Linked DNA regions of Homo sapiens: region 2 is linked to region 1. Evidence: promoter capture Hi-C in human tissues and cell types (Jung and others, 2019). All regions are on one chromosome and are shown on one strand. Each heading gives the region's core, a stretch centred on a gene start or on the middle of the fragment in contact. The rest is flanking DNA. Distances are from core to core; before and after follow the strand shown.

Region 1 (2,999 bases), core at 310-2,809:
CCCAGAATCCCAAGACAGCGTCAGAGCGCCTTGTTTGCTTCTGCCCCGTGTCTTCCCCCTGCAGCACTGGGACCCCAAAGTCCTAACACTCAGAAAAGATAGAAAGGCAAGGGCTTCTCCCCTGTCCCTCGCTAGGTGGACTGGGGACCCGCTCTGGCCTCAGCATATGCTGAGCTGAGGCGCAGGTCACACAAATGAAGTCTCAGGCAGGCCTGGAAACTCAGTTTGTGCAGGGCCTGGGGCCAGAGACAGGGTGACTGACCATGGCTTCTTCTGTTCCCAAAGGCTGTGGGGAGAGAAAGCCCTTTGTAAGGAGTGAGGGAGGATGGCCAGGGCTCCTTCCCTCTTAGAGGGAAACTTGGTTCATACACAAGCGCTTGGAGGGGATCAAGTCAGGGCCAGTTTGAGGGACACTTAAACGCGTGCCAAGGGGTCAAAGATTCCACAGCCTTGCGGCTCACTCTGCCAGAGTTTGGGTGGGGTCGATGACCATCTTTGCAAGGCCACACCTAATGCTGGGATCCTAAGGCACCTGAGGTTTCACCAGGCCCAGCACCAACGCTGGCTGGCGGCGCAAACCCCTGCCCCACCCCAAGCCCTGGGCCTCCTATGGCCGCATCTTCAGCATCTCTGCCAGGCAGCGCCACACGACTCCAGGGCTGCCGGGTGGGACGCCTATCACGGCGGCCCCTCGGGGGGAGCCACCCCAGAAACCACGGTTTTTAGGTGTTTAAAGACAGGGCGGCAAAAACGCACGAGGGAAAAGCAATCTTTTCAAAAGAGCCTCCGAATCCCTCGGCTGGCCAGGACGGCAGAGCTGGGGGAGGAACGCACGGACGCTGAGCGGGAAAAGGAAACCAGGACGGAGCCGTCTCCTGCCGAAACAGAACTCTCCGCACGAATCGCGGGCTTTCGGGGCTCCCTGACCCGTCCGCCAGGTCGGCCCCGAAACGGCTGTCCCGTTTGCTCCAGGACGCGGCTTTGGCGCAGGGCGCGGCCAGATTGAGACCTGCGGCTATGGCTAGGGTTCTGAGCACCGACCCCCGCGGCCCGGCCCGCGCTCCGCTCCCGCCCGAGACCCGCCCAGCCCCGGCCCGAGGCGCCCGGCCCGAGGCGTCCTGCCCTTCGCCCGCCGCCCGCCGCAGCCACTGCGCTCCCAGCCGAGGCCGGGTGGCCGGCGACCGCACAGCCCGCTGCCCACGGCAAACAGAAAGGCGCTTCTGAACGCGCCCGCTCCGCTGCTCGGCGCCAACTTCGCCCTGGCCCCTGCGGGAGCCGGCGGCCGGCAGAACTCACCTTTGCCTAGCAGCGGCAGCAGCAGCAGCAACAGCAGACGCAGCCCCGCGGCACCGGACGTCGCCTTCGCCATCGCCCGTGCGCGCTGGGGCCACGGCTGGAGGGACTGCGGCTAGGGCCGGCGGGTCTGGATGGCGGGTGCGGCGCTCAGTCTGGCCGCCCCATCCCCGCCCGGGGCGCGGCGGACGCGACGGACACTGGGGGCGCGACGCACGTTCCGGGGCACTCAGCGCTGCTGCGCGCCCTGCTTCGGTCGCGGGACTGAAGCGAGGTAAGCGCCGGCTGCGCCGGAGGAGCGGGTAGGGGCGGGGCGGGGCGGGGGCGGTCCAGGGGTGGGCCAGGCGGGGCCGGAGGCGGGTGGGGTGCGGGAAGGGGCGGGGCTCCAGTGCTTGCTCTGGCTGCGCGGGGTGCGGCCGGGGCGCGGCGCGTGTAGGAGCTCAGTGCGGGACGCGCGGCTTGGGCCGGGTGGGGCTTGGGGAGGAGCGGGGTGCGGGAGCGGGGTGCGGCCGAAAAGGGCCCGGCAGGAGCCGGGTGCGGACCCCGAGGTGCGCGGCGGGGATGGAACCCAGGAGCCCGGGTCCGCGCACCTACGCAGAGCCGCTCTTCCTACCCGGTGCGCGCCCGCTTGCAGTCCCTGCCTTTTGCCCTTTCCGCTGCACAGAGAGGGCAGGGATGCTACGCGGGATGCAGGTCTGGCCGACTGGCTCGGGGTGCGACCCCGCGGACTCAGAGAAGGGCGCCCCGCCTCCAGGCTCTCCGCGGAGCGCTTGCTGCGCCATTTCTCAGAGGCGAGAGGCGCAGTGGGAGCGCGGCCTCTGCTGGGGCCGGAGGCAGGAGGCGGGGAAGAGCTGAGCAGGGGAAGAGAGGCAGAATAGCCTTTTTCAGCATCCTGGGGTAGTAGAGAGGGTAGGGTCCTGGAAGGGCAGTTTGTGATTCCCCCCTCCAGCACTGGTCCAACCCTTGGAAACCGGAAACTGGCTCCGGCGTCCTTTCAGAGACCTGGTGCTGGTGGCCCTTGCATCCCTTACACAGGAGAACTCTCAGGAGATGGGCTGGCAGAGTCGGAGAGCGAGTAGCGAGGAGGAGGAAAGAATCCAATTTTCCCCCAAAGAAATGATGGAAATGATGCGCATAAACACATTTACCCCTAATAGGGAGCAGCAACTGGACCTGAGAAGGGGTTCTGGGTGAGGTTGGATGTGGGCTCAGTGGGGAAGTCCTCTGTTCTCGCCCCATCCCCGGCTGCTTTTTGAGGTCTGGCCTGCACTTAGGCGCAGAGGGATGGAAGAAGGGAAGCCCATGGGCCCTTGAGGAGGAAAAGCCAGGGAACCTGGGCCCAGGGCACCCTTGAGCCAGCCGCTCCCTTGCTTGCTGTGTGCAGAACCCCGCCCTCTTGCCTGGCTGAGCTCAGGGCTGAATAAGTGATCTGCACATCACTGCAGATATGAAGTCAAAGTGAAGTCACCCTCACAGGCAGGAGGGGGAGCTGCCAAGACAGAGGCTGGCTTGCACTCAGCCAACCGTGATGTCCAGACCTGGCTTGCTGAGGGGCAGGTGGCCGGGGCACAGGCCTGCCAGCCCAGGAGAGACACTGTGGGCCACTGGACTCCGGCTGCCTGCCACACCCTTCCAGTTTATGGAGCTAGAGTTGGCCACAAGGGGCTCCCTTGGGTTCAGACAGGTTCCATCTCTGGTGCCAGTGG
Region 2 (2,999 bases), core at 327-2,826, 43 kb after region 1:
CAACTGGGTTTCTGTTATAGTTGTACCAACTTACACTTCCACTGGCACTGTCTGAGAGTCCCAGCTGCTCCACATCCCTGTTAACACTTGGCATTGTCACCGTTTTTAGTTTTAGCTGTTGTATGGCTAAATGACTAGTAGTGACTAGTAGCGGCATCTCCTTATGGATTTAGTTTCCATTTCCTCCAATAACTCATTATTCTGAGCTTCATTTTGCTACTTTTGTTCCAGGTTAATTTCAGCCTTTTGTCTCTCCTTTCTTTCCATGTAACCTCAGTGGTTGCATCCTTTCCAAAGTGTGAACCTCAACTGTGTGACCTGCCTCCTTGGGTGCAGATCCCCAGTGATACATCTCTGCTCCTTGCTCATTCTACTCCTCACCTAAGGAGGAGCTGTGCCTTCCCTAAGCCCCTTGGTATTCAGCAGAGAAAAGTCTTTTTGTTTCATTACAGTCGTTTCATCTTTTCCTTAGCTCAGCTGGTTTCCTCATCCGAGTCAGTCATCTAATTCATTTTTATCTTTTACTTCAAAAGCTGTTTAAAAAATTGTGGTAAATACACATAACATAAAATAACCATTTTGACTATTTGTAAGTGTACAGTTCAATGGCATTAAGTACATTATTCATATTGTTGTACAACCATCACCATCATTCAGCTCTGAATATTTTCATCTTCCCAAACTGATACTCTATACTCATTAAACAACAACTCCTCATTCTCCCCCCTGCCAGCCCCTGGCGACCACCATTCTATTTTCTCTCTGTGGATTTGACTACTCTAGGCACCTCATGTAAATGGAATTGTGCGATATTTGTCTTTTTGTGTCTTGCTTATTTCACTTAGCATAATGTCTTCAAGTTTTATCCTTGTTGTGGCATGTATCATAATTTACTTCTTTTTTAAGGCTGAATAATATTCCATCATACAGATATACCACACTTCGTGTATCCATTCATCTATTAGTGAACCCTACGGTTGCTTTCACCTTTTGATTATTGGGAATAACACTGATATGAGTATAGGTGTATAAAAACCTGATGAAGTCCTTGCTTTTAATTCTTTTGAGTATATACCCAGAAGCAGAATTGCTGGATCATATGGTAATTCTTGGAGAAGGTGGGGGGAATTGCTATATTGTTTTCTACAGCAGCTGTACCATTTTACATCCCAATCCAAATTCTTGACAACATTTTTTATTTTCATTTTTGCTTTTTAAATAGTAGCCAACCTAATGAGTATGAGATAGTATCTCACTGTGGTTTTTGATTTGCATTTTCCTAATGATTAGTGGTGTTGGGCATAGTAACCACAAATAAAATATCTATAGAATACATATAGAAGGAAATAAGAAGGTATTCAAAAGATGTCAATACAAAAAGTCAGCTATGCACAAAGGAAGGCAGGAAGGGAGGAAATGAAGGACAAAAAAGCTATAAGACATACAGAAAACAAACTACTAAACAGCAATAGTAAGTCCTTCTTTATTATTAATTACATTAATTAAATGTAAATGTATTAACTTCCCCCATTAAAAGACCTAGAATGGCAGAATGGATTAAAAGAAAAACTATGATCCAACTGTATACTGTCTACAATGCACTAGATTTAAGGGCACAGGACATGTGTGCAGGTTGACAGTAAAATAATGGGAAAAAATTGCATGCAAATATTAACTAAAAGGAGCAAGCGTGATTATATTAATGTCAGATAAGATATACTTTAAGCTTATAACTGTTACAAGAGACAAAGATGGGCATTACGTAATGATAGAAGGGTCAATTCAACAAAAAGATATAACAATTATAAATATATATGTGCCATACATCAGGGCTGCCTTCTCATTTTTTTTGTATGTATTCCATAGATATTTTCTTTACTATTACTATGTGAATTACATAAAACTCCTAAAGTTATTACAATCTACTTTAAACTGATAACAAATGAACTTCAATTGAATATAAAAGCTCTACAACCTTCTGGCTCTTCCCATTTTATGTTATTGAGGTATGTCGCAAATTACATCTTTATATATGTTCCCATTAACATAGATCCATAATTATTTTATATGCCTTTGTCTTATAAACTCTATAAAATAATAAAATGTGGCATTACAAACCAAAATGATAATAATACTGGTTTTTATATTTGTCTATGTATTTAGCTTTATTGCATAACTTTATATTTTTGTATGGCTTTGAGTTACTATTTAGCATCCTTTAATTTCAACTTAAATAATTCCTTTTAATATTTTTTGTAGGGTAAGTCTAGTGGTAACGAGCTCCCTCAGCTTTTGTTTATCTGAGAATATCTTAATTTCTTCCTCATTTTAAAAGGACAGTTGTGCTAGGTATAGAATGTTCAGTTGACAGCTTTTTCTTTCTTTCAGCACTTTAAATATATCACTGCATTGCTTTCTGGTCTGCAGGGCTTCTTCTAGGAAAATCATTGCTAATCTTACTGTGGCTCTCTTGTATTTGGTGAGTCACTTTTCTCTTGATGCTTTCAAGACTATCCCTTTGACATTGTCTTTCAAAGGTTTGATTATAATGTGGCTTGATTATAGTGTGTCTTTCTGTGGGCTTGTTTGGGCTTATCCTAATGGAATTTGTTGAACTTCTTGTATTTTTATATCAATTTCTTTGGATATAAAAGTTTGGCAAGTTTTTGGCTGTTACTTTTTCAAGTAAACTCTTTTACCCTTTTCCCTCTCTCCTCATTCTGAGACTCCTATTATGCATATATTGGTTGGCTTTATGGTGTCCTATAAATCTCTTAGGCTCTGTTTACTTTTCTTCGTTCTTTTTCCTTTTTGCTCCTCAGACTAGTGTTAAGTGACCTGTCTTCAAGTCCCTACCTGTTTAAGTTTGCTGTTGAACCCCTCTAGTGAATTTTCCAATTCATTATTGCATTTTTCAGCTCTAGAATTTCTGTTTGGTTCTTTATCATTTCTATCTTTTTGTTAATATTATCATTTTGATTCTATATAAATTTCTGGAT

Evidence for each region. The method cuts DNA at HindIII sites, captures the fragments that hold promoters and counts their contacts. A contact is called where the count stands out against the background at its distance.
Region 2: a fragment that was not itself captured here is called in contact with the fragment with the promoter of RET in region 1 in 2 of the 25 tissues and cell types used here (liver and mesendoderm cells).

Annotation. Positions count from the first base shown.
Region 1 is chr10:43,075,629-43,078,627 of GRCh38, reverse strand. It overlaps RET (ret proto-oncogene), which reads right to left and starts at 1,559. Exons shown (of 20, transcript NM_020975.6): 1 at 1,297-1,559. The coding sequence starts at 1,369. RefSeq lists enhancers at 214-1,204, 1,513-2,370, 2,236-2,502 and promoters at 1,337-1,635, 1,337-2,020. The HindIII fragment of the contact is 24,069 bases long and covers 1-2,999 here.
Region 2 is chr10:43,032,616-43,035,614 of GRCh38, reverse strand. No RefSeq gene overlaps it. Among named protein-coding and RNA genes, the nearest start is that of MIR5100, 37 kb to the right of the region's middle. The HindIII fragment of the contact is 4,891 bases long and covers 1-2,999 here.